Linked DNA regions of Homo sapiens: all the other regions are linked to region 6. Evidence: promoter capture Hi-C in 16 types of primary human blood cells and fetal thymus (Javierre and others, 2016). All regions are on one chromosome and are shown on one strand. Each heading gives the region's core, a stretch centred on a gene start or on the middle of the fragment in contact. The rest is flanking DNA. Distances are from core to core; before and after follow the strand shown. Region 1 overlaps ZZZ3 (zinc finger ZZ-type containing 3). Region 2 has its middle 6.9 kb from the start of FUBP1. Region 3 has its middle 3.5 kb from the start of USP1. Region 4 overlaps FUBP1 (far upstream element binding protein 1). Region 5 overlaps FUBP1 (far upstream element binding protein 1). Region 6 holds the start of SRSF11 (serine and arginine rich splicing factor 11). Region 7 has its middle 11 kb from the start of ZZZ3.

The links. Contacts are between HindIII fragments. The CHiCAGO score rates a contact against its expected background, and 5 or more counts as called.
Region 1: a contact is called between a fragment that was not itself captured here and the fragment with the promoter of SRSF11 in region 6, in 1 of 17 cell types (total B cells). The highest score is 9.4, in total B cells.
Region 2: a contact is called between a fragment that was not itself captured here and the fragment with the promoter of SRSF11 in region 6, in 1 of 17 cell types (total B cells). The highest score is 5.6, in total B cells.
Region 3: a contact is called between a fragment that was not itself captured here and the fragment with the promoter of SRSF11 in region 6, in 4 of 17 cell types (naive CD8 T cells, non-activated CD4 T cells, total CD8 T cells and 1 more). The highest score is 12.4, in naive CD8 T cells.
Region 4: a fragment that was not itself captured here is called in contact with the fragment with the promoter of SRSF11 in region 6 in 6 of 17 cell types (total CD8 T cells, naive CD8 T cells, monocytes and 3 more); the score reaches 12.3 in total CD8 T cells.
Region 5: a fragment that was not itself captured here is called in contact with the fragment with the promoter of SRSF11 in region 6 in 4 of 17 cell types (total CD8 T cells, total CD4 T cells, naive CD8 T cells and 1 more); the score reaches 15.8 in total CD8 T cells.
Region 7: a contact is called between a fragment that was not itself captured here and the fragment with the promoter of SRSF11 in region 6, in 1 of 17 cell types (naive CD8 T cells). The highest score is 5.6, in naive CD8 T cells.

Annotation. Positions count from the first base shown.
Region 1 is chr1:77,663,338-77,666,037 of GRCh38, reverse strand. All of the region lies in intron 1 of ZZZ3 (zinc finger ZZ-type containing 3), which reads left to right. Among named protein-coding and RNA genes, the nearest start is that of ZZZ3, 18 kb to the left of the region's middle. The HindIII fragment of the contact is 7,724 bases long and covers 1-2,700 here.
Region 2 is chr1:77,984,637-77,987,336 of GRCh38, reverse strand. It overlaps a transcript of DNAJB4 not described here. Among named protein-coding and RNA genes, the nearest start is that of FUBP1, 6.9 kb to the right of the region's middle. The HindIII fragment of the contact is 598 bases long and covers 1,152-1,749 here.
Region 3 is chr1:62,432,184-62,434,975 of GRCh38, reverse strand. No RefSeq gene overlaps it. Among named protein-coding and RNA genes, the nearest start is that of USP1, 3.5 kb to the left of the region's middle. The HindIII fragment of the contact is 3,951 bases long and covers 1-2,792 here.
Region 4 is chr1:77,964,343-77,967,146 of GRCh38, reverse strand. FUBP1 (far upstream element binding protein 1) reads left to right here. Exons shown (of 20, transcript NM_003902.5): 5 at 46-98; 6 at 192-263; 7 at 396-453; 8 at 1,916-2,078; 9 at 2,179-2,277; 10 at 2,400-2,501; 11 at 2,791-2,804. Among named protein-coding and RNA genes, the nearest start is that of FUBP1, 13 kb to the left of the region's middle. RefSeq lists a silencer at 1,329-1,531. The HindIII fragment of the contact is 936 bases long and covers 936-1,871 here.
Region 5 is chr1:77,944,556-77,947,486 of GRCh38, reverse strand. It overlaps FUBP1 (far upstream element binding protein 1), which reads left to right. Exons shown (of 20, transcript NM_003902.5): 20 at 1-2,931. Among named protein-coding and RNA genes, the nearest start is that of FUBP1, 33 kb to the left of the region's middle. The HindIII fragment of the contact is 3,321 bases long and covers 1-2,931 here.
Region 6 is chr1:70,219,987-70,222,759 of GRCh38, reverse strand. It overlaps SRSF11 (serine and arginine rich splicing factor 11), which reads right to left and starts at 1,380. Exons shown (of 12, transcript NM_001350605.2): 1 at 921-1,380. The coding sequence starts at 1,123. RefSeq lists a silencer at 996-1,045 and an enhancer at 941-1,486. The HindIII fragment of the contact is 2,724 bases long and covers 1-2,334 here.
Region 7 is chr1:77,692,610-77,695,392 of GRCh38, reverse strand. No RefSeq gene overlaps it. Among named protein-coding and RNA genes, the nearest start is that of ZZZ3, 11 kb to the right of the region's middle. The HindIII fragment of the contact is 7,698 bases long and covers 1-2,783 here.

The DNA of each region.
Region 1 (2,700 bases), core at 95-2,594, 7.4 Mb before region 6:
ATGGAGTCTCGCTGTCTCTCCCAGGCTGGAGTGTACTGGCGCAATCTCGGCTCACGGCACCCTCCGCCTTCTGGGTTCAAGCGATTCTCCTGCCTCAGCCTCTTGAGTAGCGGAGATTACAGGCGTGTGCCACCACGCCTGGCTGATTTTTTTATCTTAGTGGAGACTGGGTTTTGCCATGTTGGCCAGGCTGGTCTTGAACTCTGACGTCAGGTGATCCGCCCGCCTCGGCCTCCCAAAGTGCTGGGATTACAGGTATGAGCCACCACACCTGGCTTCCCAAATACTTTAAAACTTTAAAATTTTATATTTTCTCTAGCTTTATTGAGTTATAATTGGTAAATATAAAAATTTTAAATTTAATGAATGAGACAGTGAATCACAAATTTTCTTAAACATTCCAGTATTCTTATTAACCAAGCTAAATATTCATACACTTTTAAACTTAAAATCATAAGCGTGAAGTCAGTTACTATTTTAAATTTAGAAACTATCATTGTCTATAGGAACTTAAAAATATTTAGGATAGTTTTAAACCACACAGTATTAGTATCATGAGTTTGATATACGTAATTTCAATATTCTAATTAATCATGGACGTTGGGCAGTCACTTACCTTCGGGAACAGTTTTGCTGTCTTCAGCAAGTTGAGATTCCTGTGACATACTTTATGTCCACAGTTCAGTTACCATCTCTTGACAGGCTGTTTATCAGCTTGACATTGGCCTTGGAAGCTGTCTTTGTCTAGGTGGTTTTTCTCATGTCACAGATGGACATAATGAACTGTCAGTAAAAATTGTCTGTATGGTAACAGTGGAACTCTAAGTTGATGTTGGTTTCTTCTGAATTGAAGTTTAAGACCTTTTGTAATTGTTTTGTAATTGCTTTTTAACTCTATTGCCAGATCAAGTTTTGTAAACCTCACCCAGATTATTTCACCACTTGATTGGATTCCAGGAATCCATTTTCTGTCTGGCTGATAGCACAGGTTTTAGATCATTTAAAGACATTAAGGAACTGAGAGGTATTGATAGCTTTTGTTAATTTGTTGTAACAAAAAGTATGCCAGAAGACTAGAAACAGCATAAGGTCTTATTTTTAAAAAGGAAACCAGTAGTTTTGGAGATTGTTTTCCTAGGTATGCCTTGGAGAAGAGGCAGAGAAGTACAGGCTTAGCTCATCAGCATTAAGAACATTTCATTAATAGTGTAAAATAAACTTTCTTAAATACTGTTAGAAGGAATTAATGTCAGACTTTGAGAGAAGTATCTAAAAAGGTACTTTTTGTTGTCCATTTTTAATATTTTCATTAATGTTTTGAATAAATGTACAGTTGTGCTTATAAAATGTCAGAACAATTTAGCTGGCAAGGATAACTAAAACAACTTGTAAGTTCTGTCTGAAACTACAGGCAGAAACCTATAGTGTGAGCTGCTTAAAAGTGTGGAATTAAAAAAATATGGAATTCAGATAGAAAAAATTACATGAGTAAAATTTTGTTCAATTAATGTTAAGGCACTGTATGTACTAAGAGAATAAAAAATGTATTGCTCTATTCCTTCGAGGAGCCTATAATTGAATGGGGAATATAGATATATCAAACTATACATTGTAATTTTATGATAGGATTATTAAGCATTATGGGAGCAAAGGAGAGAGTAGTTAATTCTGATGGATCATTGAATTGGCCTTTGAGGAATAAGAGTTTTCTAGGAATTGAAGAGGGGAGAAAGTCATCTCCTTTCTTTCCCTCCCCATTCTTCTTTAAGGTACTGAAAAATCAGATTCAGGACAGTGTTTATTAAGACAGATATATTTGTGGGCAAATAAAGAGTAAATTGGAATGAGAGATTAATTAGGCTACTACAGTTGTTTAAATAGAATGATGATGGCCTGAGCTGGAGCAATAACAATAGAACAGAAAGAGTAGATAGTTTGTTTTTTTTTTTTTCCAAGACATTTTGGTGATAGAATAAGTAGGGTTTATTAGCCGGGTGCCATGGCTCACACCTGTAATCCCAACATTTTGGGAGGCTGAGGCGGGCGGATCACCTGAGGTCAGGAATTCGAGACCAGCCTGACCAATATGATGAAACCCCGTCTCTACTAAAAATGCAAAAATTAGCCAGGCGTGGTGGCACGCACCTGTAATCCCAGCTACTCAGGAGGCTAAGGCAGGAGAATCGCTTGAACCCGGGAGGTGGAGGGTTGCGGTGAGCCAAGATCGCGCCATTGCACTCCAGCCTGGGCAACAAAAGCGAAACTCCGTCTCAAAAAAAAAAAAATAGGGTTTACTGATTGTATATTATTAGGAGTTTAGTTTTATATAGTCTCAGACATCCAACTGGTGAGTTGCTTAAAAAAGAAAAAACAAATGAAGTACCAGGCTGCAGTAATAGGATTTTGTCCATAATAAGGGATATGATATTCATTCCATGTTGGTTAGGACACATTTACAATGTTGGCCTTATTTCTGAAAGCTACACTTTAAGAAAAGTAAATGAAAAGATAGATATGTCAAGAGGAGGGTAACCCATGAGAACCTTTGAAGGAATTGAGAGTGCTTATTGTGGAGAAGGAAGACTTGACAGGAATGAGTGAAGGAGGGAAGGGGACAGTTGTTTTCAGGTAATGCAGGGCTGTAATGAGTTGTTCTACAGGGTAGAATTAGATCCAGGATACCACCAGACTTTTTTTTTC
Region 2 (2,700 bases), core at 201-2,700, 7.8 Mb before region 6:
AGCTAAGATTGCACCACTGCACTTCAGTTTGGGCGACAGAGATCCTGTCTCTTAAAAGAGAAAAATTTGGGAAGAGTGTAGGTGATATTTGAAACCATGAGACTAGAGGAAATTACTAGAATCATAGATAGGGTAAAAGGGCACAAGGATTGAGTCCTAGCACTCACAAATGCAGTAGTAAGAATAACTATTACTAGGAAAGTGGGGCCTCTCCCTCACCCCTGAGATGAATCCTAATTATTCTAAGCCAGTATGACACTTGATAGAGTAAGCCTGTGACTCAACTCTGGTCAGGACAAGGTTAATAAGATTGGCAGTTGTGGCAGGGGTGGAGGGTAGGGACACTGGTAGCAGAAACTTTCCCCTTCCATTTAACAATCATGACTGCATGACACCTGGAACTGTGGCAACCATTATGCAATCATTAGGGGAGTAAAGTCAAGAAGCTGAGGGTGGTAGAAGGCAAAGATGAAAAAAACATGGGTACCTCATAAATTGTTGAGCTGCTCATCAACCAGCCTTAGAGCCACTCTACCCCTGGATTTTTTATTATTTAAGCCATTTAATAAGGGTTTTCATTACTTGTGGTCAAAAGTATCTGGATACAATAATCTCATTTAATTTTCAAAACAATGCTTAGGGTGACAAGGAGTAAACAAACTCAAAAAAGGTTAAAGAATTTGGCAAGGTCACTGAAGTAGCAAATGGTGATTTGAAGTTCATCCGACTCCAAAGTCAATTTGAACTGATTAAGAGTTGTTGATTTAAAGAATGGACACAACTAAAAGACAAAGGGGAGTGGGAGTTGAGAATTACTGACGTGAATGGCAAAGAAGGAAAGCCAGCAAGTAAGAGATGGAAAGAAAAGAGAAGTGTCAAGAGACTAGAGGAACGGAAGAAGTACATTAGGAAACAAACTGACAAGAGGTCATCTTGAGGAGAATATCAGACTTGAAGATTTTTATTGTTTGAGTTGTCTGGATGAAGACTAGATGCAGGCTGTGGCCATAAGTAGTGAGGAAATTGCATTTCGAGTAGTTAAGGATTAATGTAGTAATATTTACTACATGGCACACATTATTTTATGCACTTAGGATTCAGTGGTATGTGATCTGAGATGAAGTTCCCGGGCTGTAACCTGGCCAGAAGCTTGAAGTCTTTACCCCAAGATATAAACAGAGCACAAGAATCAGGCTGACAATTGGGATGACAATGACTCACATTCACTAGCTTGTTTCAAATAATTTAACATACACTAGGAAATTAAATGTTTAATGAATGAATGATCTATCTGATCATTCAGCTTCTCCCATTCTGACTCTTCAAACCATTGCTTAATTAGCTACAGGATATTATTGGTTAGACTGATACAAATAATTGTCTGAAAACAATAGGGAGTCTCTGCAAAGTGATCCATGGTTTCAATCCACCTTCACTCACTAGCATGCTCAAGACAAGACGGTGAGATATATGTCTATTTTGTTTACTACTGTATCTCTAGCACTTAGAACAATGCCCAGAATTTTTGTTGAATTGAATAAATGAATAGATTAATTAGGACCTACTAGATGCCAGGCATTATTGTCATCTCAAAGGTAAATAAGATAGCTCCTGCCCTTGACCGTTTACCACTTAAAAGCTCTAACTAAAACCTCTCAATCTTCATTTATATCAAAGTGCATAGTTAAGGAGCAAGGTTGTTAAGAATCTAAAGGTAATATCTGTCCTGGATAAAAGGTGTCTAAAGCTTAATATGCACATAAATTTTTTAAAACTAACATTCTTGCTTGAAAAAATAGTATTTATATTATTGCTACAATTAGATAACCTGGCATAAACAATGATTATGATAAACCATAGAAAAATAGTACCTCCAGATATTTCTTATAAAAAAATTAATTCCTTTTTCTTAAGTACATGTCCCTTCAAATTTTTTTTAAATGAAGTGAGAATATCAGTTAATATGAAGCAACATAAAGGAACAAATGGAATCAGAAGGCAAATTCCAAAGAGATCACTACTATAAATAGAGACATGGAAATGTCAGAACAGAGAAGCAAGGTTCCACTAAAAAACAACAAAATTGTTATACCAAATGAGTTTTCTATCTTGTACCCACCCACTTCCAGTTAAGGATTTCACTGGCAAAGATCCTTGATCTTTCAATAACCTATTTTCAGAAGGAAATGTTGTCAGTAAATGTTGTCAGTAAAGGTAGACATCCTGATTACAAAAATTAAGATGTTTTTGGTTCTGTACAGATTCTTCTTCCTCTTGTACCTAAGAAGCAGAAAACCTCCAACCCAAACACCGATGCTTCATATAGAAGACAGTTCACAAAATAAAGAGCACTGGATTAGAAATCTAGTCTTGGCTCTGCAATTAATCTTGGCACTTTGTAGAAGGCACTCAGCAATCTGTGTTATGGTTTCCTCCAATATAAAATGAAACAAATGGGCGAGATTACCTTCAAGGTCTTTCCAAGACTGATATTCTAAGAAAAGTTTGTGTGAAACTACCCTTCAGTGCCATCTGGCCTCAAAGGCCCTCCACATTCATAATCATATGTAGCTTTGTAGGAAAATGATAAGTGGAATAAAGAATTCAACTTGATATTTATTAAACTTTTACCAACATAAAAGCATACTGGGCAAACCAAAGAATAAGACGCGGTCCTTGACAAGCCCTCTTTTATACAGA
Region 3 (2,792 bases), core at 123-2,622, 7.8 Mb after region 6:
TTTTGAGCACAGCCAACGAGCTCTACTGATGGATTGGCTGTATGATAATGTAAGAAAAAACAGGTCGGGTAGCCAGGGCCGGTGGACCGCTTGAACCCAGGAGTTCAAGATCAGCCTGGGCAACATGGCAAGACCCATCGCTACAAAAAACTCCAAAAATTGGCCGTGCGTGGTGGCACGTGCCTGTAGTCCCAGCCACTCGGGAGGATGAGGGAGGAGGATCCCCTGGCTGCAGTGAGCCGAGATGCACCACTGCACTCCAGCCTGGGCAACAGTGTGAGGCCCTGCCCTCCACCCTCCCACCCGAAAAAAGAAAAAAAAACAAAGAGTAACGATTTTTTTTTTAACCTGAGCAACTCAGTGTTGGTCCTTGCTAAAATGGGGGTCTTAGTAGGCTCAATGGGAAGGATCATCGTTCTTAGAATATTAAGATTGAGGTGTTTAACGTACAAACAGATGTTGAACCAGCAGATCACGAAATACACAAGGACAAGATTAGAAAATGTATATAGGTCAGTCTTAGCCATTGTGCACCACAGAGTGGCAGTGTCTCATTTTCTAGTACTAGCATAATTATTGCTACTTTCAAACTCTACGAGAACAGATAAGCAATTCTACTTTCCCATATTCCTGAGATCCTATTGTCTGCAGCCACTATTCTTCCTGTACACAATGTGTGGTATCAGTTAAGATTCATTTGCGGAAAATAGAATCCATTTTAGCTAGTATAAACACAAAGATATTGAATACTTGGGAGGGTTGATTAAATAGGCTCTAGATTAGTTTTTCAGGAATGAGTCCCAAAGTCTTCCCAGAACCAGGCCACCAAGGAAGCAATGACTCTTCTATGATCAGGAAATGACGTCTCTGAATCACACTGCTGCTGCCATGCCTAGGAAACCACCATCAGAAAGCTGCGTGCACCGCTGACCCTAGAACCACACTATACCCACTATGATCTGCACCAGTGCCATGCATATCCTACGTCCCGTCTGTCAAGGCCCACAGGACAAGTGGCTAGACACTGAGGTTTCTGCTAATGCTGCTTCAGAAAAATCAAACACCTCCACAACTGTGCTTGTCAACAGCAATAGCAGAAGTTTGGTGTGTCTCTGGCAATATGATTAATGTAAAAATTTAATATGCTTCTCATTCTTTTGCTTTCAGTCAGTTGTTTGTGGGAGAAATTCTAGCCACAGTTCTTGCCTAGATGAGTTTTTAAGCCCCGAAACTTTTTTCCCAGTTTCTGTGTGCTCCCCAGTTACCCCACTCTTAATGACAGCTAATCCCTTTGGAAACAATGGGATTTAATAGGTTCACAGCATTCTCAATCCTATATTTGTCAGTCTTGTGTGGGTAAATGCCAGGCATATTTCCTTCCAAAGTTTCACAGGCACTGTTTCTGTGTACAGTCATCCCTTGGTATCCATGGGGGATTGGTTCCAGGACCGTTATGGATATCAAAATCCGAGGATGCTCAAGTCCCATATATAAAATGGCATAGTATTTGCATACAACTTATGCACATCCCACCTATACTTTAAATCATCTCTAGATTACTTAATTACCTAATACAATGCCTACACATCATTCACATGGATTTAACATAGTATTTAACACTTGGCACGTGGCAAATTCAAGTTTTGCTTTTTGGAACTTTGTGTACCTTTTTCATAAGATTTTTTGATCTGTGGTTGGTTGAATCCATGTATATGGAACCCATGAATGTGGAGGGCCAACTGTACTTCAGTCTAAAGGTATAGAAGAAGTGTGGTTTTTTTCCGCCCTTTAAATCTTCAAATTATGAAACTTTTATTTTTATTTTTTTGAGATGGAGTCTTGCTCTGTCCCCCAGGCTGGAGTGCAATGGCATGATCTTGGCTCACTGCAACCTCCACCTCCTGGGTTCAAGCAATTCTCCTGCCTCAGCCTCCCAAGTAGCTGGGATTACTGGTGCCTGCCACGACGCCCAGCTAATTTTTGTATTTTTAATAGAGACGGGGTTTCACAGTGTTGGCCAGGCTAGTCTCGAACTCCTGACCTCGTGATCCGCCTCGGCCTCCCAAAGTGCTGAGATTACAGGCATGAACCACCACGTCCCGCCCAAATTATGAGACTTTTAATCCACTTGGATTACAGCAGAATTTCTCCTTTAGCAAAACTGTATTCTTTTCCATTTCTACATGCAAATTGGTTACTTCTGGCCTGAATTCATATCTCATAGAACTTGGTTTAAAGTGTCAAGAAAAAGCCAGCAAATACCAAGTTTATAGATATTTCCAGCCATTTCCCTTCGTGCCACAATTTTGATTGGCGTGTGATCTGTCTTCTAAAGCTGGCAACAGGTTTACCAAATGTCTGGCAACTGGAGAACAAAGGTCACCAGTTTTCCATCTTGCAGTATCTGAGTCTTTACCACCCACTGCCCAAATGCTTCCACTAAAAACCACATTTCTTTTAAGGTTATGTGTAGCACAAATTTATAGGAACCAAACTCTGCATCCGATAGGAATAGGTTTGTTTATAAGTAACAGAATATTTTTAAGTGTCCTTAGCTAAAATTAATATTCATGTCTTTATCATGTATACATAATGCAGAAGTAGGCAGTCTAGATTAGTATGGTGGTTCTGTGACCATCAGGGACCTAATTAATTTCTTCCATTCTCAACATGTGGCTTCTACCTTTCGGTCCTTTATAGCTGTTTAAATTCCAGCCATCATGTCTACAGTCCTATGCAGGAAAGAAAAAAGGACAGAGATGACCATGGTCCCCTCTCTTTAAGGATACTTC
Region 4 (2,804 bases), core at 154-2,653, 7.7 Mb before region 6:
AGTATCTTTCATTGAAGGAAAATGGTGCTTTCTGTTATTTCTTAGCAGATCTGTAATGACAGAAGAATACAAAGTTCCAGATGGAATGGTTGGATTCAGTAAGTAACTTGATTTTTAAAGTTTTGAAAACATGATCAAAACATACTTTAGAATCTTTCAACCAAAAAAAAAATTTTTTTTTTTCTAACTAGTAATTGGCAGAGGAGGTGAACAGATCTCACGCATACAACAGGAATCTGGATGCAAAATACAGATAGCTCCTGGTAATGTTACATTCTCATGGTATTTTCAGTGTGACTAGAAAACTAGCTTTTTTTTTTTTTTAAGCCTTCTAGTAACAATAATGCTACTTTTAATCTTTTGACCTGAAGTTATCTGTTTGTTTTAAATTGTAGACAGTGGTGGCCTTCCAGAAAGGTCCTGTATGTTAACTGGAACACCTGAATCTGTCCAGTAAGTTTGAAAAATCTTAAAAATCTACTTAAGTAACAACAGCAGAACTCTTTGAATTTTGTCTCTTCTCTTTGTTACTGCTTTATTTTACACTGTGGTTTCGCTGCCACCTTCCCTCAAAGTCCTCCAACTCCTTTGAAGTTTATGCCTCATGCCTTTCTCAGGTGGGGTTCATCATCTGAATCATTAAACACAGAAAATGGTTAAAACAACTCCATATCTACTCCAGTCTCTACTTGTAAAGCCACGTGTAGCCTGGAGAAGAATGCACAGTCAGGTCGACTGGTGACACTTAAAACTCAGACATTAAGCTCAAGTGGACTGTTGTGTTGCCTGCATTTCCCTAGTTCCATTCACTTTTCCACTCCTCTCCCAGGCTCTTTAATACTGTATTTCCCCACCTCCAAATCTTCAGCATCTAACCCCACGCTCTCCCACTTAAGCTTATTTACTGAGAAAATGGAAGCAAATGATAAGAAGCTTTTCTTTTTCCCTACCACTAAACCTACCAGCCTTCATTTTTCCTCTGTTCACATAGTACTCAGGTAATTGCTTTCCTTTTGTGTTCGAGTGCCTAAAGCCAGCCCTTTCTTCCTACTGAAGGTTCAGCTTGCAGTTGTACTTTCTTCTGCATTGTTAGTTCTCCCTCATTACTAGGTTTTTTCTTTTCTTTTTTTTGAGACGAAGTCTCGCTCTGTTGCCAGGCTGGAGTGCAGGGGCACGATCTCGGCTCACTGCAACCTCCGCCTCCCGAGTAGCTGGGACTACCGGTGCATGCCACCACACCCAGCTAATTTTTGTATTTTTTTAGTAGAGACAGGGTTTCACCATGTTGGCCGGGATGGTCTCAATCTCTTGACCTCGTGATCCACCCACCTCGGCCTCCCAAAGTCCTGGGATTACAGGCGTGAGCCACTTCCCCCAGCCTGATTTTCTTTATGGCACTTTCCAAATAATGTGTTATTCATTTGACATGTTATTTTTACTTATTTAATGAAATGAAGCCACTCTAGCAGGAACCCTGTTTCTTTGAGTGCTATTACCCCATTACCTAGAATAGCACCTGCACATAGTTGATATTTAAATATTTGTTGAATGAATAATTGTAGCATATGAGTAAGCAAAATGGTAGTTTAAAAATGTAAATAAATCATTTAGTTCTTGGAAGAATCAGTTTAATTCTGAGATAACTTTAGCATTAGAGTTCTTTCTTGGAAATTTTGGACTATTCTTAAAAATAAAAATTGTATATCTAGAAAATTTTTTTGCATAATCTCTCAATCTTTGACCCTTGATGGCATTTTCTTTCAGTTAAAAGTAAAAGCATTGTTAAAGTTAGCATCAAGGCACCTAATCCTGAACTGGGATAGGAGGAGTACTTGGTTATATTGTTTTATATTTCTCTATTTGAATAAGCTTGGGTATGCTACAGCTTACTATTTAAATATTAATTTGTTAACAGGTCAGCAAAACGGTTACTGGACCAGATTGTTGAAAAAGGAAGACCAGCTCCTGGCTTCCATCATGGCGATGGACCGGGAAATGCAGTTCAAGAAATCATGATTCCAGCTAGCAAGGCAGGATTAGTCATTGGAAAAGGGGGAGAAACTATTAAACAGCTTCAGGTATTGTTATTTTTGTGAAATGGCTACTTTTGATCTGTTTTGATGCCCATTTTTGTCCACTTCCTTTTGTTAATATATATTATTTCTATGATTGTAACAGGAACGGGCTGGAGTTAAAATGGTTATGATTCAAGACGGGCCGCAGAACACTGGTGCTGACAAACCTCTTAGGATTACAGGAGACCCATATAAAGTTCAAGTAAACTTAACTTTATACTTTATAAAGAAAGAGTGGGTTGAATGGGGTTGGGCAAAATATGCATGAATAATTAAAATGTTTTGAGACATGCTTTCTAAATTAGCTAACTTTTTCTGCTTTAGCAAGCCAAGGAAATGGTGTTAGAGTTAATTCGTGATCAAGGCGGTTTCAGAGAAGTTCGGAATGAGTATGGGTCAAGAATAGGAGGAAATGAAGGGATAGATGTAAGTAAAAATACCCATTCAGAAATGGTTGTATGCTAATTCATAAATATAATAGTGTTTTCTGTTTTGTGTTAAGTAGCTCTAACATTGTTATCCTTTTATTTCACCTTTATACTTTAGAATACAGAATTCTATATATCTTGTTACCCTATTTACTATAAATATAGAATTATATGTACTTTTATGATTTGAGGCAGATTTTCAGGAAATGGCGCTTTTTTAAAATACTTTTTTTTACTTTAAACCCTGAGAAGCTAGCTTTCTTAATACTTAGTCTTTTTTACATAAGGTCCCCATTCCAAG
Region 5 (2,931 bases), core at 137-2,636, 7.7 Mb before region 6:
TCCTTGATTGTGTTCCTTCAAGGAGCATTGCACTGTAAGTACATCAGAATGACAAATTGATGAACTGCAACAGTATCTTTTTGTCAATGTTCCACATAATGCAAATGCCATACGTTGTGTGAATATTATGTTGGAATACAGTGCTGATATCTTGGAAAACCATAACTGCCTCTTAATTTAACATAGAATAATACATAGTTCTGTATTTTTTTTAAAGTGAGCTTAATGGGTAAGTATTTTTTATATGCTTTAGCTATAGCTAAAGAAAACTGATACTTAACAAAGTTGAATAGTATTATTCACTGGTGCTCCTAAAATATTGTTTTTCAGTGTAAAATATGCATATCTTCTATATTTAATATGAAAGTCTTGAAATGTATCAGACAGAAGGGGATTTCAGTTTGCAAATAATGAGCAATGTAGCAATTTTAACACATTTCATAAATATATATTTTGTCATTGGTGGAGAGCACCATTTGTTGTTTTGAATATACTTTAAAGGAAGAGGTACAAGGACATAAATGTTGAGATTACCTACAGGATGGAAATAGCAGTACAGTTCATTGTAGATATTTTGAAATGTTTTTGATTGTTTTATATAACCTAGAGTGACTTCCCTTACCCTTATTTAGATCTGCATATATAGTTCTAGTATGAAGTTTAATAGTTAAGGAGTTAGCTATTTGTTATCTTTAAGAGTAGGGTATTGACGTGAACAATTGCAGTATTTTGCATGATACTGTTTTATAGATGACCTTTTAGGAAAGTGGTGCATTTATTAATTGAACTGAAGAAGTAGTTCAGTTGAATTCAGTATCATAATTCACAAATTGGAGGCTGTTGATTTTGATTCATTTAAGGTTTAAAATCTTTATTAATTGCAAACAGTGCAATTATTTATACTTCACAGTGCCTTCCCAGACCTTCCACCTTAGGTTCTGCTGCAAAAAGCACCAGGTAAGCACAACCTAAGGACATATATAAATAAATATTTCAATACATTAATGTTGTCCCTGTGAGGTTTTTGTGGTTGTGTATTCAAAGGCAATCTGCTACTGCTTCCCCAAAATGTATTTTGTTATTTTATGCTACCATCTTAGTGGAAAGTCTGTAAGTTGTTAAAGCAACTGTTTACATTTCTGGGTAATGTTTTTTATTTTACTTTTTTTTTTTTATTAAGACAAGAAAATGATGAGTAGATTGCTGCAGTAATTGAACTACATCCAAATCTTTTTGTATTTTTTCCCCAAATATAGAAGTGTTAATATTAAGAAAGGACAATTACACAGTTTTCAAGATTTAGGAAATCACTTGTTTAGAAACTTCAACAGCCTTCACAATCTGTTTTATATGATGGACAGAAAATTTCTTTGCCCTCCAAAATTATAATTTCTTTATTTTTTTCTTATTCTTAAACTATAATAATTCAGTAAGGATATTATGGGTTAGAATTTTATTATGATTTTTTTCTTAGACAAAAGTTATATGCTGAAGAAGGAAAAAGTTATAAGGCAGTATGTTTTGATAAAAGGCATGTGCATCAGTGAAATGTTAACTGTATAGCAAATAACCTTTCATAATCTGTAGCAATCAGTATTTTTCTGATTTAATAATATTTTAATAACTGACGCTGCATTTAATTTTTTTGCCAGTTTAAAATGTTTGTGTGTTTTTATAGATGATTTTAACTGGTACATATTTTGAGTTAAGTTGAATGTATGAAAGCAGCATCTTATCAGTTTTGTTTATTCGATTTCTAAAATGTGCTGATCCTTTTAAAACTCCTGCTTATCTCTGCAACAAAGAAAAATATTCAAAAATACTGCCTTCATTTTCACACACAGTGCTGAAGATGCTGCAAGCACCAAATCATAGCTCATAAAATCAGGTCCTGAGATAGTTACCCATAAAGAGGAATCCTTTGAGTGTATGCCATTGGTGAGCCGATGAGCATGGACCATAGAAGGGCTCAATGTAGAAGGTAAAATTGGCAAATCATAATTGAGAAATATGAAATGTATTCCCATACATAATATGGTATAGGGTGTAATGTACCTGCTTTTGATCACTTTTCATTTTAAAGTGCTATTCACTTGATCTTAAATGTTCCATGAACTGTTAAATTTCTTAAGTTACATAGTTACTACACCACATTTATGTGTATGTTATGTTTTAATAGTCAATGATAGGTATGTACAATTGATAATATAAAGGGGCTCATTGAAACTTGAGAGCCTGTTGAGTTTTGGTTAGTTGTAGATTGCATTTTTATAAAAAAAAATACAGATAGATTGATGATAATAGATATTGGGGCATTGTTTCTGTCTCATGAGAATTCTTTTATTCATTACCATAAGCCTTCACTGATACTATAAGCATTATTTTAAATGACGCTGATCTTAAGTCTGAAATAAATGGAAAGCAGAAAAGGTGAGCCAGTTGATTTGAATGCATTGGATATTAGTGTTAGAAACAATGTATAGTTTAGATTGAAACTGAACTGACTTATTTAGCACTTAAACAAAAATTTGACAATGTTTTTAGTTTTTTTTAAGACAGCTTAGTGTGGTGATACTTAGAATTCTATGGTTTGATGTTTCTTTTAGAAATGAGAAGTATAGTTTTATTTTTTAATATAAAAAATGGTTTTAATACTAAAACTAGTAATTTGATACTAGTTGTTTATAAACATTGTAAAATATATCTTTTAAACAAATTATCTTGGTAGTTAATTCATAAGGGTGGGTTTGGGTAGGAATAGCAGAGTACTTTCAGAGGGAAAGGGGAGTCATTCAGAAGTGATAGCATTTTATTTGTTTGAATACTCTGCCAGTAAAATCAGCTGTACTTAGAAAGTTATCTGTTGTGTAGAATAATGATGTAGAGTTTACTAATCAGTGAGGATGTCTTGTTTTTATTTTCTGCAAACTC
Region 6 (2,773 bases), core at 131-2,630:
AGTATTTAAGTGACATCATAAAATTCTCAATATATGATATTTACTGATAATGACATTTGAATTGTCACTTCTCCACCAATAAGTCTTCCAAAAAGCACAAGACTATTATTATTATTCCAATTGTCTGTTTTAGTAGTACACTTTATCTTACTTCTTAGCTTCTTTGAACTATTTTTTCTTTACAATTCATCCACTTAATATTCTTGCGATAGAAATAATTTTCAAAATAAAAGTGAGACAAAAAGGATAAAAAGTCATACACTCTAATTCAAATTTCAACATTTATAAAAATCCTTCTCAAGAACAACTGTGAAATATCACAAATCTGTATATTATTCAAACAAAGGAAAATCTCTGGTTTATAACCCGTTTTTTGACATTATACAAATTAAGTAATCAGGCTCACACTAAACTAAGCGTCTGTCAAAAAGAATATGATCTTTGAATTATATTGCTGGGCCAGAACCACATAACAGCAATAACAATAAGTGAACAACCTACAAAGTTTAACACCAAATTAACACAGGCATGAATAATTTTGTTACCTTTCTTCCAAGAACGCAAAGAACAAATACTCAGTTTTTTAAAAAAGGGATTTAACCTATATACGACGTACAGACTGCGGTTAGTCTTGCGTTAAGTCCCCAAAGCCAAACGACCACGTTGGCACAATTTAAGGCGGAAAAAAAAAATTTCCCGAGAATAACAGCCAGTGTTTCCTAATTCCAAAAAGCCCTGGCCCTGCCTCTCTGCATTTTTTTGTAGGCCTGGAACACAACCGTCTTAAGTAAATCCACCAGCCACCAGCCACTCAAGCAGCCTGGCCCGGGGAAGCAGCGACAGGGGCCTAAGGAAATTGTGTGTGTTAGGCCCAGGCTGAGGCGGCGTTAGCAGGAACAGTGATGGTGGACGATACTCACTCCGGCGGGAAGAGGCGCAGTTCGTCGATCTTGCCTAGGAAACCGAAGAGAGTCCGCATCTGCTCAGAGCTAGCGCTCGGGGAGACATTAGTCACCTGGATTACCTCGGTGCCGCCGCCTCCGCCGCCACCACCACCTCCGCCACCGGGCCCGCCGCTGGGGCCCGGACCTGCAGTGCTGGGGACGACGGTAGTGTTGCTCATGGCGCTGCTCGGGTTCTCGCTCCTGCTTTAACACATCAAACACACAACAAACAGTGAGAAGGAGGGGGAAGAGGAACCGGATTGCGGGAGAGAGGAGGGTGTCCGATGCTACAGCCTCTGCTACTGCTGCCGATGCCGCCGCCGCCGCCGCCGTTTCTCCGCCCCGCCGCACGCCGCGGGGGAGGGGATGAGAGCGCGCGAGCTCGAGACCACGAGAAAACAAACGGCCGCCCCACCTCGCCTCCAACCACGACACTAGCGGGCCCGAGCTCCCACAATGCTTTGCGGCGCAGGGCGCGTCAGCGTCGGCTCCACCCCGCGCAGGCCCAGCAGCCGTCGCCTGCAGCCCGAGAAATGAGAGGCACCGGGGTCTAGAGAAAGGTGTTATCCACCTTCGTCTCTCGTTTTATTCTTCTTTTTCTTCTCTCTTTTTTTTTTGGAAGAGCGAAGAGGCACGTATAAACTTTTTTTTTAAAAAAAGCATTCATCCTCCTGCAAAAGTCACTTCAGCAACTCTTCTTATTAAATACTGCTCACGATGTCTTTATATACTGATAATCATCTACAGAGCTATCCGATTACTAATGATATTTAAACCCAAGCTAAGATGCCACCCCACCACCACCAGTATAAAATGTCCCGAAATTTTCAATGTACATGAATTTTGGTAACATTAAATCTGTAACTAATTTGTTTTGTCACTAAAACTTTCAGAAAAGATATATTTTAATATTACACTTATTAATAAGCGTTTTGTACATTCATTCACAATGGATGACTTTTTTTTTTGAGACAGAGTCGCCCTGTCGCCCAGGCTGGAGTGCAGTGGCACCATCTTGGCTCGCTGCAACCTCCACTTCCCCTGTTCAAGCCATTCTCCTACCTAGGCCTCGGGAGTAGCTGGGATTACAGGCGCCTGCCACGACGCCAGGCTAAGTTTTGTATTTTTAGTAGACATGGGGTTTCACCATGTTGGCCAGGCTGGTCTCCAACTCCTGACCTCTGGTGATCCACCCGCCTTGGCCTCCCAAAGTTCTGGGATTACAGGCGCGTGAGCCACTGCACCCAGCCAATTCCACAATAGCTGACTTTGGAAACACAGTTTATAGTACTTAAATATATTCAAGTATATATTTCTAAAGAAAATACTGCAATTTCTCAAGAAAAACTTGTTTCACATACATATTCTTGCTTAAAATAATTTTGAAGCTTTTGACTATTAAAAAAATCCTTGCTTTTGTTTTCAACCTCATCTGAACTATTCTCTCAACTGCATCCAGTGTGTAGTCCAGTGACTTGTAGTGCCCCAAACATGACAAAAACCATAATGTCTCTGTGCCGATACACAAGTTATTAATAACATCACTCATCTTATCTGTCATCTTCTGTAGAGCATTCCTTCCCTCACTGCTATGACTTCTGCAAGCTGTTAGGGCTTCCTCTTTTCTGCTAAGTAACAGAAGATACATGTATTTATTATTGACATGTATCACTCAAAGTTGTGAGCTTCCTGGGTCAGTCCAGAACCTGGCACAATGTCTGTCACACAGTCAGTCCCAATGAATGTGCTGGACACACGCACAAATATACCTTAATGACAATGGCATTTAAGACAGTTCACTAAATAATTCACTTGACCTTGAATGTTTT
Region 7 (2,783 bases), core at 154-2,653, 7.5 Mb before region 6:
CAGAAGTATGCAAACAAGTCATTCAGTCTAGTAAAGTTGGTTTTTATTTATTATTTTATTTTTTTTTTAGACAGGGTCTCTCGAGCTCTGTCACCCAGACTGGAGTGCCTGGCGTTGAATACAGCTCACTGCAGTCTCCATCTCCTGGGATCAAGCGATCCTCCCACCTCAGCCTCCTGAGTACCTGAGACCACAGGTGTGCACCACCACACCTGGATAATTTGTTTTATTTTTTGTAAAGTCTGACTTTATTGCTTGGGCTGGTAATCAGTGTAGTAAAATTTTGATGTTTAATGAAATGAATTTTAATAAGCAGCCATTTAAGATCTATTTGAAGTTTTAAAAAATATATAGTAAAATATGATTCTACTATAGTAAAATATGATCTTCCTCAAGGTCTGAATGTTACTGATTTTTTGTGAATCACCAGAATTTAGTGTATTGTCTAGTATTTAGTGGTTAGTCAAAAAAGATTTGATTTTAATGATTGTTATTTATTGAAACTTAGAATGTTTCAGTCATTTTACTAAAGTTATTTCCTTATATTTAATCCTCCTAACAACTCTATGATATAGGTTAAATGGTTTGCCCAAAGTCATACAGCAAAGAAGTGGCAGATACAGGACTCCAACTCATGGCTTTATATAATAAAGAGCCTATTTTAAATTGAGACTAGTAGTCAGAAAATTATTTACCATAATGTAATCCCCAATGAATTCCTTTGAAACTGGTTGTGGTATCAGTCATATCAGTAGTGTCTGTTATTGGGATATATAATAAGATAAAGATACTGGTCCCTAAGAGCTTATATATATATATATATATATATATTTTTTTTTAATAGTTTTTTCGAGACAGGGTCTCACTCTGTCGCTCAGGCTGGAGTGCAGTGGTGCAATCTCAGCTCACATGCGACCTCGACCTCCTGGGCTCAAGCAATTCTCCCACCTCAGCATCCTGAGTAGCTGGAACTACAAGAATATGCCACCACACCCAGCTAATTCTTGTATTTTTTGTAGAGGCAGCATTTTGCCATGTCACCCAGGCTGGTTTCGATCTCCTGAACTCAAGCAATCCACCCGCCTTGGCCTCCCAAAGTGTTGGGATTACAGGCGTGAACCACCATGACCGGCCAATTTTTTTTACATTATAATTGTCAAAATACATAATATGTTCAGTAAAGGTCTAGCAATACCATAGACTCATAGCTAAAAATTGATCTATGTGTTGACAGATGTGGGATAAAATAAATAGTTTCTCTAAGGATGATTTTCCTGGAAATAAGCTGAGAATTAGGAAAATTGCAATCAAAGGCTAGTGAGAGCCTATATGTGTTAAGAGTCTATTGATTTATAGGCCAGGTGTGGTGGCTCATGCCTGTAATCCCAGCAGTTTGGGAGGCCAAGGTGGGTGGATCACTTGAGGTCAGGAGTTTGAGACCAGCCTGACCAACATGGTGAAACCCCATCTCTACTAAAAATACAAAATTAGCTGGCGTGGTGGCATGCGCCTGTAATCCCAGCTACTTGGGAGGCTGAGGCAGGAGAATTGCTTGAACCCGGGAGGCAGAGGTTGCAGTGAGCCAAGATCGTGCCACTGCACTCCAGCCTGGGCAACAAGAGCAAAACTCCATCTAAAAAAAAAAAGAAAAAAGAGTCTTGATTTATAATATGAAGGTGATTACTTTTGAGGCCCTGAAGTCCATTTGTTTAAATTCAAGTCCTAGTAGCTATATTAACTATGATTTGGAACAATATTTAAAGTTCTCTGATTTCCAGTTTTCTTCATTTGCTAAATGAGAATGTTGTAGTTTGGGCTTTCCAGGAAGCAGACACTGAGATAGTGTTAATGCATGCATATGATTTGTTGGGGAATAACACAGATGAAAGAAATGAGAGAAACAGGATTGAGCAGGAGGAGTAACCAGAATGATGCAGACCTGACAAATTCTCTGCCAGGTCTCCATAAGGCAATATGGAGCTAAGATTACCCATTGGAGGAGCCCTGCATTGGGCAGAAATGACTAGGTCCTTGTACTGTCACTAGGCCTTGTTCTGTCACTGACTAGTGGCTACCTGGAAAGGAGAATACACTCAGCTTGACCCTGATGGAGCTAACAGAGGTTGTTACCCAACCCTCTTCCTCTCAGCTGCGCAGCAAGTGCTTTCTGGAAGAGGGGTCTGAACAGCAATCTTCATGGCTGCCACACTTAATCATAGGATTATGATAATTATGTGTATTATATATAATATATACAACATAATTGGCACTCGGTGATGTAATTCATCATTCTCTTTCTCCTTTTCAAAATGTGTAATTTCTTTTTTTTTTTTTTTTGAGATGGAGTCTCTCTGTCGCCCATGCTGGAGTGCAGTGGCGTGATCTCTGCTAACTGCAACCTCTGCTTCTCAGGTTCAGGCAATTCTCCTGCCTCAGCTTCCCGAGTAGCTGGGACTACAGGTGCACGCCACCATGCCTGGCTAATTTTTGTATTTTTAGTAGAGACGGGGTTTCACCATGTTGGTTAGGCTGGTCTCAAACTCCTGACCTCAAGTGATCCACCCGCCTCAGCCTCCCAAAGTGCTGGGATTACAGGCGTGAGCCACCACGTGCTAGGCCCAAAATGTGTAATTTCTAAGGATGCAACATTATTTATGTAAGAGTCCTGTCAAAAATGTTGAATCTGAATCTATGAAGAGAAGAGAAGCAAGATAACTTTTTATATTTAAATTTCAATAGTTTTGGGGTACAGGTGGTTTTTGGTTACATGGATAAGTTCTTTA